Regions from separate parts of the Homo sapiens genome. Here region 1 is linked to region 2. Evidence: promoter capture Hi-C in human tissues and cell types (Jung and others, 2019). All regions are on one chromosome and are shown on one strand. Each heading gives the region's core, a stretch centred on a gene start or on the middle of the fragment in contact. The rest is flanking DNA. Distances are from core to core; before and after follow the strand shown. Region 1 overlaps MYADM-AS1 (MYADM antisense RNA 1). Region 2 holds the start of ZNF579 (zinc finger protein 579).

What was found. The method cuts DNA at HindIII sites, captures the fragments that hold promoters and counts their contacts. A contact is called where the count stands out against the background at its distance.
Region 1: a fragment that was not itself captured here is called in contact with the fragment with the promoter of ZNF579 in region 2 in 1 of the 25 tissues and cell types used here (spleen).

Annotation. Positions count from the first base shown.
Region 1 is chr19:53,850,805-53,855,317 of GRCh38, forward strand. It overlaps MYADM-AS1 (MYADM antisense RNA 1), which reads right to left. Exons shown (of 3, transcript NR_184033.1): 3 at 1,430-3,831. Among named protein-coding and RNA genes, the nearest start is that of MYADM, 15 kb to the right of the region's middle. The HindIII fragment of the contact is 6,687 bases long and covers 1-4,513 here.
Region 2 is chr19:55,578,865-55,583,302 of GRCh38, forward strand. ZNF579 (zinc finger protein 579) reads right to left here and starts at 1,984. Exons shown (of 2, transcript NM_152600.3): 1 at 1,931-1,984; 2 at 1-777. The coding sequence starts at 775. RefSeq lists silencers at 2,188-2,327, 3,039-3,333. The HindIII fragment of the contact is 17,237 bases long and covers 1-4,438 here.

The DNA.
Region 1 (4,513 bases), core at 1,560-4,059, 1.7 Mb before region 2:
CAGCCTGGGCAATAGAGTGGGACTCTGTCTCAAAAAAAAAAAAAAAAAAAAAAAAAGAACCATATTCTTGAAAACCACTGACAATAGATTTTAAGTGCTCACACCATAAAGAAATAAGTATGTGAGGCAATGCACGTGTTCAACAGCTTGATTTAGCCACTCCACAATGTATACATATAGCAATACATTATGTTGTACACCATAAATACATACACTTTTCTTTTTCTTTTTTTTTTTTTTGAGACAGAGTCTTGCTCTGTCGACAGGCTGGAGTGCAGTGGCGCCATCTCGGCTCACTGCATCCTCCACCTCCCGGGTTCAAGCGGTTCTCCTGTCTCAGCCTGCCAAGTAGCTGGGATTACAGGTGTGTGCCACCACACCTGGCTAATTTTTTGTATTTTAGTAGAGACGGGTTTCACCGTGTTGGCAGGGTGGTCTTGATCTCTTGACCTCGTGATCTACCTGCCTCAGCCTCCCAAAGTGCTAGGATTACAGGCATGAGCCACCGAGCCCGGCCAACACATACACTTTTCATTTGTCTATTTAAAAAAATCACTACTGGCCAGGCGCGGTGGCTCTTGCCTGTAATCCCAGCACTGTGGGAGGCTGAGGCGGGCGGATCACTTGATGTCAGGAGTTTGAGATCAGCCTGGCCAACATGGTGAAACCCCGTCTCTACTAAAAATATAAAAATTAGGTGGGCATGGTGGGCGCCTGTAGTCCCAGCTACTCGGGAGGCTGAGGCAGGAGAATCGCTTGAACCCAGGAAGCGGAGGCTGGCAGTGAGCCAAGATCGCGCCACTGCACTCCATTCTGGGCAACAGAGCAAGAATCTGTCTCAAAAAAAAAAAAAGGAAAGAAAAAAGAAATCCTTGCCAATCCTGATATCCCAGAGATGTTTCCCAATGCCTTGCTCTTGAATATTTATAGTTTTATCTTTCACACTTAGACATGTGAACCATCTAGAAATGTATTTGGGGTACGGTGTAAGGTCGGGGTCCTGGACCGAATACAGCTCCACAAAAATGTCTGTTCTCGACTGCAAAAAAGCAATGTGACTTTGTGCACAGATCAAGTGCATCTGTTTCTGAAATCTGTAGTGTTCTGTGTCATCAGCCTGCATTTCCATGGTTGCGACAATACCACATTATTTGCCTCATTTCCTACCGCAGTTCCTCAATCACTCTGAATTCAGCGGCACTAGCCTCATTGCTCTCGGATGAGCACACCTATTGTGTACCACTCAGGGCGCCTGTGTCTGGACTGGCAGCCTTTCTTAGATGCTTTGGGTGGTGGTTCTGTCTTATCCTTCAGCCAGCAGCTCAGAGTCCTCCCCTCAAAAGGCCTTTCCCTGACCACTCCATCTAAAGTAGCTCACCCCAGCCTCCTATATCTTTTTTTTTTTAATAATGCAACAGAGAAGGTGATATAGGTGCATTGACAGGCCTTCTTTTATTAGCTTGAGCCATTATTATTATTATTATTATCTGAGATGGAGTCTTGCTCTGTCACCCAGGCTGGAGTGCAGTGGCACGATCTCGGCTCACTGCAACCTCTGCCTCCCAGGGTCAAGCAATTCTCCTGCCTCAGCCTCCTGAGTAGCTGGGATTACAGGCGTACACCACCATGCCCGACTAATTTTTGTAGTTTTAGTAGAGATGGGGCTTCACCATGTTGGTCAGACTGGTCTCGAACTCCTGACCTCGTGATCTGCCTGCCTCAGCCTCCCAAAGTGATGGGATTACAGGCGTGAGCCACCGTGCCCAGCCTTCTTCTTCTTCTTCTTCTTCTTCTTATCATCATCATTTTGAGATGGAGTCTCTACCTGTCACCCAGGCTGGATTGCAGTGGGGCGATCTTGGCTCACTGCAACCTCCGCCTCCCAGGTTCAAGCAATTCCCCTGCCTCAGCCTCCTGAGTAGCTGGGACTTGTATTTTTTAGTAGAGATGGGGTTTCCCCATGTTGCCCAGGCTGGTCTCAACTCCTGACCTCAGGTGATCCACCTGCCTCGGCCTCCCACAGTGCTGGGATGACAGGCATGAGCCACCACGCCCAGCCACCAGTCCCCTATATCTTATGTTCTGGTACATTTTGCTATACAAAAACAACTTATGTGTGTGTTTGCTGACTCATTGTCTCTCTCTTGCATGTGTGAACAGAGCAGCAGCAATAATGTTTGCATGTCTTGTTCACTGGCCATGTCCCCTGGGCATAGCATACGGTAGGGAATTCACTTTGGATGAAGAAAAATGATCCTCTTGCATCCATTCAGGATGAATGCATTCTACCCTCAGAGTCCTCTAGGGGGCACCCGCACATGAATGCGCCCCTGCAGGGCACAGTTCTTGAGTTGTTTTTGTTTAACTGGCCTGCACCTGTTATTTTGTTTGTGTGTGTGTTTGGGTTTCTTCTTCTTCTTCTTTTTTTTTTTTTTGAGACGGAGTTTTGCTCTTGTTGCCCAGGCTGGGGTGCAATGGCGCGATCTCAGCTCACAGCAACCTCCGCCTCCTGGGTTCAAGTGATTCTCCTGCCTCAGCCTCCTGAGTTGCTGGGATTACAGGCATGTGCCACCACACCCAGCTAATTCTGTATTTTTAGTAGAGATGGAGTTTCTCCATGTTGGTCAGGCTGGTCTCGAACTCCCGACCTCAGGTGATCCGCCCACCTCGGCCTCCCAAAGTGCTGGGATTACAGGCATGAGCCACTGCAACCAGTCTTTTTTTTTTTTTTTTTTTTTTTTTTTTTTTAAGATGGGGTCTTGCTCAGTTTGTCCAGGCTGGAGTGTAGCAGTGCAGTCACAGCTCACTGCAGCCTCGCACTCCTGGGCTCAAGTGAGCCTCCTGCCTCAGCCTCCTGAGTAGCTGGAACTATAGGCACAACCACCTTGCCTGGCTAATTAAAAAAAAAATTTTTTTTTTAAAGAGTCAGGGTCTTGCTATATTGGCCAAGCTGATCTCAAATTCCTGACCTCAAGTGATTCTCCCACCTCAGCCTCCCAAAGTGTTGGGATTCCAGGCATGAGCCACCATGCACCAGGTCTGGCCTACAGCTTTTAACTACACATTTAGAAAGAGAAACCACAAGTGGTAAAAGCCTGGGTTCTGCCCTAGATTACCCGAAATGAGCTATTTTTATAGAAGCCTCCTGTGTGCAGGGGCTCATGCTAGGCCCCAAGGGCAGGCAGAGGTTGTTTTTTGTTTTTTGTTTTTTAATTTGTTTCTTTTTGAGACAGGGTCTCACTCTGTCGCCCAGGCTGGATGCTGTGGTGCAATCTCAGACCTGCAACCTCTGTCTCCCAGGTTCAAGGAATTCTCCTGCCTTGGCCTCCGGAGTAGCTAGGACAACAGGCACGCACCACCACGCCCAGCTAATTTTTGTATTTTTAGTAGAGACGGGGTTTCACCATGTTGGCCAGGATGGTTTTGAACTCCTGACCTCAGATGATCTGCCCGCCTCAGCCTCCCAAAGTGTTGGGATTACAGGCGTGAGCCACCGCGCCTGGCCTAAGGCAGAGGTTGTTGACTGGTCTCAGTTGCTGCTTGGAAGGGCCCCAGTCTCCTGCAGGGAGGGAGGGAGGATCCCACTATGGCTCCCAGAACTTTGCTTCCCAGCAAGAGGCACTAAATCAATCCCATGCTTGAGGATGGTGGGCCCTGAGAGAAATGAATCTTGGCCTCCAAGTGTTCAGACTGTGTGGGGGACACCTGCTATTTACATTTGTGAAATGGGGCTGGTGACCTTGGCTCAGCGATGGGCTCCATCTCATCTCCTCCTGGAAGCTTGATGGAGGAAAAGCATCTACAGCCATTTGTTATCACTGGGCTCCTTGCCTGAAAGATTATAAATACTTCGTTAAAATACATACATCCATAGTGATGTGTTTTGACTTGGTAATAGATTTCAGGGTAGACGCAAGCCTCCTCAGCCACCCCTGTTTTCCAGTTGCCCAGAGTTCCTCCCTTTCTGTTTTTACTGATTTCTTCTGTATCTTTCTGGAAATATCCATTGCATATATATACACACACAGATATATATATATATGCATGTATAAATGTGTGTGTATATATATATGTGTGTGTGTGCCGATATAAGACATTGTTTTAAGTATTTTACGTGCATTGAGTCATGTAATATAAATATACTTTTATATTGCTAATACATTAATATGTTTAAAATAAGAAAATTATACAGGCCAGATGCAGTAGTTCACACCTATAATACCAGAGCTTTGAGAGGTCGAGGCAGGAGGATCACTTGAGGCCAGGAGTTCGAGACCAGCTTGAACAACATAGGGAGACCCCTGTGTCTACAAAATATAAAATAAAATATAAAAAATAAAACCCGGCTAGGCACAGTGGCTTACACCTGTAATCCCAGCACTTTGGGAGGCTGAGGTGGGCGGATCACAAGGTCAGGAGTCCAAGACCAGCCTGGCCAACATAGTGAAACCCTGTCTCTACTAAAAATACAAAAAAAAAAAAATTAGCCGGGCATGGTGGTAGGCACCTGTGA
Region 2 (4,438 bases), core at 734-3,233:
CTTCCTGTTCGCCCTCGGGGCGCAGACACGGGTGCGCCTTGAGCTCGCCCTTGGTGGCGAAGGCTTCGCGGCAGCGCAGACACAGCAGCGTCCAGTCTGCCTGGAGCAGGACCTGTTTCTCCTCCTGCCGCCCGGCCGCCAGCGCCAGCTCGGCCCTCAGCTCTGCTGCCCCGGCCTCGGCCTCCTCCGACTCCGACTCCCGGGGCTCCGCGGCGCTGGTGGGCGCAGCCAGCGTGGAAGGCTCCCCCGCAGGCCACGTCTCAGGCCACGCTGCGACCGCCTCCTCCTCCGTGGCCCCTGCTGCAGCGGTGGTGGGCGGCTCCGAGCCCTCGTCCTGCGGGCCCCAGCTGGGTTCGGCCGTCTCCTTGGCCACCCTCTCGATGGCCAGCTCGACCTCGCCGCCCGCGTGCTCCTGAGCCAGGTGGCGCCTGAGCTGGGCCGGTTCTGGGAAGGTGCGGGGGCAGGCGGCGCAGCGCAGCGGGGGCTGGGGCCCGTGGCCGCGCAGGTGGCGGGAAAGGTGGGCCGGCCGGCGGAAGGCCTTGGGGCACAGCGGGCAGGCGTGGGGCCGGAGCCCCGAGTGGCTCAGCCGGTGCCGGGAGAGGTAGTAGGGGAAACGGAAGAGGCGGCCGCAGGTGGGGCAGGGCAGGGGCGCCCTAGGGGCTCCAGCGCCCCCCCTGCCACGGCCACGGCCCCGACCACGGCCTCGGCCACGGCCCCGGCCTCGGCCACGGTGAGGTGGGCTGCCCTGGGCGGGTGGAGGAGGCTGCGGATCCATGCCTGTGGGGAGAGAGGGGAGAGATGGGAAGCGGGGCAGAGATAAAAAGAGGTGCGTGGGGTGTGGCAGAAAGAGAAGCAGAGACAGTCAGAGATGGAGAGGCAGAGAGGGTCAGGTATTTAGCCAGGAGAGAGATATGAGACAGAGACAAAGATGAGAGACACCGAGGGGAGGCCAGAGATGGAGAGACAGGAGGAGAGAGATCAGAGACAGAGCGACAGAGCAGGGAATAGAGACAGGAGAAGGCAGAGATGGGAGACACAGAGAAGTGGGGATGGACAGACAGAGACCAGGAGTCGCAGAAAGACAGGATGGTGAAAGGCAGAGCAGAGAAGAGACAGAGGAGAGTGAGGAACACCCAGCAGAGAGACAGAGACACAGAGAAGAGGAAACAAAGAGACTTGGAGAACCAGAGGCAGAGATAGTGCAAGAGCAGAGATCAGAAGAGCAGTGGCGGGTTGGGGGCCGGAGAGACAGGGAGACAGAGACACAGAGGGAGTGAACTGGGCAGAGGCACGGAGGGGGACAAAGTCAGCGAACCGCTTCTGCTCCAGGTCCCCCGGCCAGGCTGAACGTTTTGGGAGGGGCTGGGACACAGCCCATGGGGCCTGAGTGGAGGGGGTGGGATTTGAAGCCGGTAGGCCCCGGAAATAGAGTGTGTTCTCAGATGCCAGGGGCTGGGAGAGGTCGGGGAGTAGGAGGGTTCAGACTTCTGGTCTGAGTTGGGAGGGGGCTAGGGGCCCAGACTCTTGGGACTGATGGGGATGGGAGCTGGGGATTGAGACTCCTGGGTCCAGGTCATGACGGATTGGGGAATCTGGACTCTGGTATGGAGGAGGTGTGGATTCCTGGGTCCCGGTGGAGGAGGGGCTGGGGAGGGGGCTGGGCTCCCAGGACAAGGGGGAGGCGGGGGCTGGGGACCCAGCTGCCGGGAATCCCCAGGGAGGAGGCGACTGAGGGCCGGACCCCTGGACTCGGGAGGGAGGCTGGTGGGGGTCGGGGGTCCCAGGTCCTAGAGGGGGGCCGATCTCCTCCGGGCCAAGCCTGCAGCTCCCCGAAGGCATGATCAGCAGAATTGGGGCCGGGTCGAGGCCTTGAGGATTTCTCAGCCCTGGGCCTGGGGCTTGGTCCTGGTCGCTGGGGCTGGGTTCTTACCTCGCCTCCTTGGCTCCTTTCTTCCTTCCCCACGGCCGGCCAAACGCGGACGGTGGTGGCGGGGAGGGAGGGGGGCCTGAGCGTGGTGGGGGGTGGAGGAGGAGGCTGGGCTCGGTGTCACTGCCTAAGCCTTCCCCCCGGAAACCTGGCCTTTCCTCGGAGCCTGAAAGAGGAAAGACTGGCTGGGAAGCCGGAAGCGGGAGGACGGGGGACCTGGAGAGGGGAGGGAAGGCAGCTTGCACTACAGGGTCCTGTGAGGGGAGGGGGCTGGGGGCCTGTCCCCCGGGCTCCCAGAGGGCGGAGGGTGCTGAGGGCCTGGAACACTGGGTCCAGCTACTCCCGGCTCCCCAACATGCACACACACATATTCATTCATTCCTTCAACAAATACACATTTATCAGGTCCTGTCTGTGCCAGGCACTGTGTCAGGCCAGGGGAGTGGCCGGGGGAGGAAGATGAATGAATCAGTGACAGAGGCTTCAGGAAGTACTGGCACTCTGGATCAGAACCTGGCTCCAGCCTTCCCTTGGCTGTCTGGGTGAAGGATTCTCCCACTTCGAGCCTCGGTTTCCCCCTTTGTGAAAGCCCCTGCATATACTCATTCAACCCTAAGCGACCAATATTTACTGAATATCTACTACGGGCCAGCCTGCATATATTTGTCTACATATACGCATATTCACTGGGACCTTAGCAGCCAATGTTTACTGAGCACCTACTATGGGCTGGTGCTGTCCTTGGTGCTGGAGTCACAGTGGCAAAAACCGGAGCTCACTGTCTGATGGGGAAGGCAGATAGATACGGATCAATCACGCTGGAGTGCATGTGGGGGAACGTGTGCTCCGAGGCAGGGAACTGCTATGGGAATGCAGAGAACAGAAGGCACTGAGCTGAGCTCACACTGGGAGGAGGTGATTCCTGAGGTCTTCCTGGAGGCAGCAATGTTTCAGCTGAAATTGGCAGAATGAAACCAACCTGGCGACATCTCAGAAACCTATTCTGGAGCAGAAAAGGCATTTTGCAGGAGTATACCCACAGCTTGACGCTGTTTGTTTAAGGTTACATTCCTGCCAAACAGTGCTAATGAGAGTGCGAGCAAACAGGTCCTTTCATACACGGCTGGGGCAAGTAGAACCTGGAACATTCTTACCGAGCCAGCAATTCCAGGAATTTATTCTTCAGAGGCATCTACTCGGAACTGCACAAAATAATGTCTGCACCAGGTTAATCATTGCAGTACTGCACATCACTGCAAACAGCTGAAACCAATCTAAACACCCATCTGTAGGAGAGCTGAGTAATAAATCATGACTGATCCACCCAGTGGAATACTAGGTGTCCATAGAAAAGAACAAAGAAGCTCACCGTGTGCATATATGGTAAGTCTCCAAGTGATAACCTGTAGAAGAGAAAAATGGAAGGTCAAGTACAGCCTGCAGCCTGTTCTGGGTTTGTGTGTGTTCTGGGATTGTGTCCAGATGAACTGGAACAAGAGAGAAGAAACTGAAACTGGCAACATAGTCTAACTTCCAGGACAGAAATTTACTACACTCTATCCTTGTTTTTTTGTTTGTTTGTTTTTTTTTGTTTTGTTTTGTTTTCTTTTGAGATGAGATCTCCTTCTGTTGCCCAGGCTGGCTGGAGGAAGTGCAGTGGTGTGATCTCGGCTCACTGCAGCCTCGACCTCCCGGGCTCAAGCAATCCTCCCACCTCAGCCTCCTGAGTAGGTGGGGCTACAGGAGTGTGCCACCATGTCTGGCTAATTTTTGTATGTTTTGTAGAGATGGGGTCTCCCTATGTTGCCCAGGCTGGGCTTGAACTCCTGGGCTCAAGCAATCCACCTGCCTCGGCCTCCCAAAGTGCTGGAATTACAGACATTAGCCACTGTGCCCGGCTTTTTGTACTTTTTGAATTCAAAACCGTGTGAATGTGCTATATACTCAAAAAAGTAAAGGAGGCCAAGCATGGTGGCTCACGCCTGTAATCTCAGCACTTTGGGAGGCCCAGGTGGGCAGATCACCTGAGGCCAGGAGTTCAAGACCAGCCTGGCCCACATGGTGAAACCCCATCTCTACAAAAGGTACAAAAATTAGCCAGGCATAATGGCACATGCCTATAATCCCAGCTACTCAGGAGGCTGAGGCAGGAGAATGGCTTGAACCTGGGAGGCAGAGGTTGCAGTGCGCTGAGATCGTGCCATTGCACTCCAGCCTGGGCAACAGAGCAAAACTCCACCTCAAAAAAAAAAAAAAAAAAAAAAAGAAAAGAAAAAAGTAAAGGAAAAAGAAATACATGGGGATTATAAAAATAAATGAAATGAAAAATAATAGCTTACTCTTGTGAGCGTATTACAAATATGATCCCATTTACTCCTTGCTTTATGAAGTAGGTACCATTATTTTTCCCTTTTACAGAGGATGAAAGTGAGATACTAGAAGTTTCCAAACCTAGCGAGTCTCAGTAAGAAGTTTCACTTCACAAACAGATAGGAGAAATGATAGTGGATC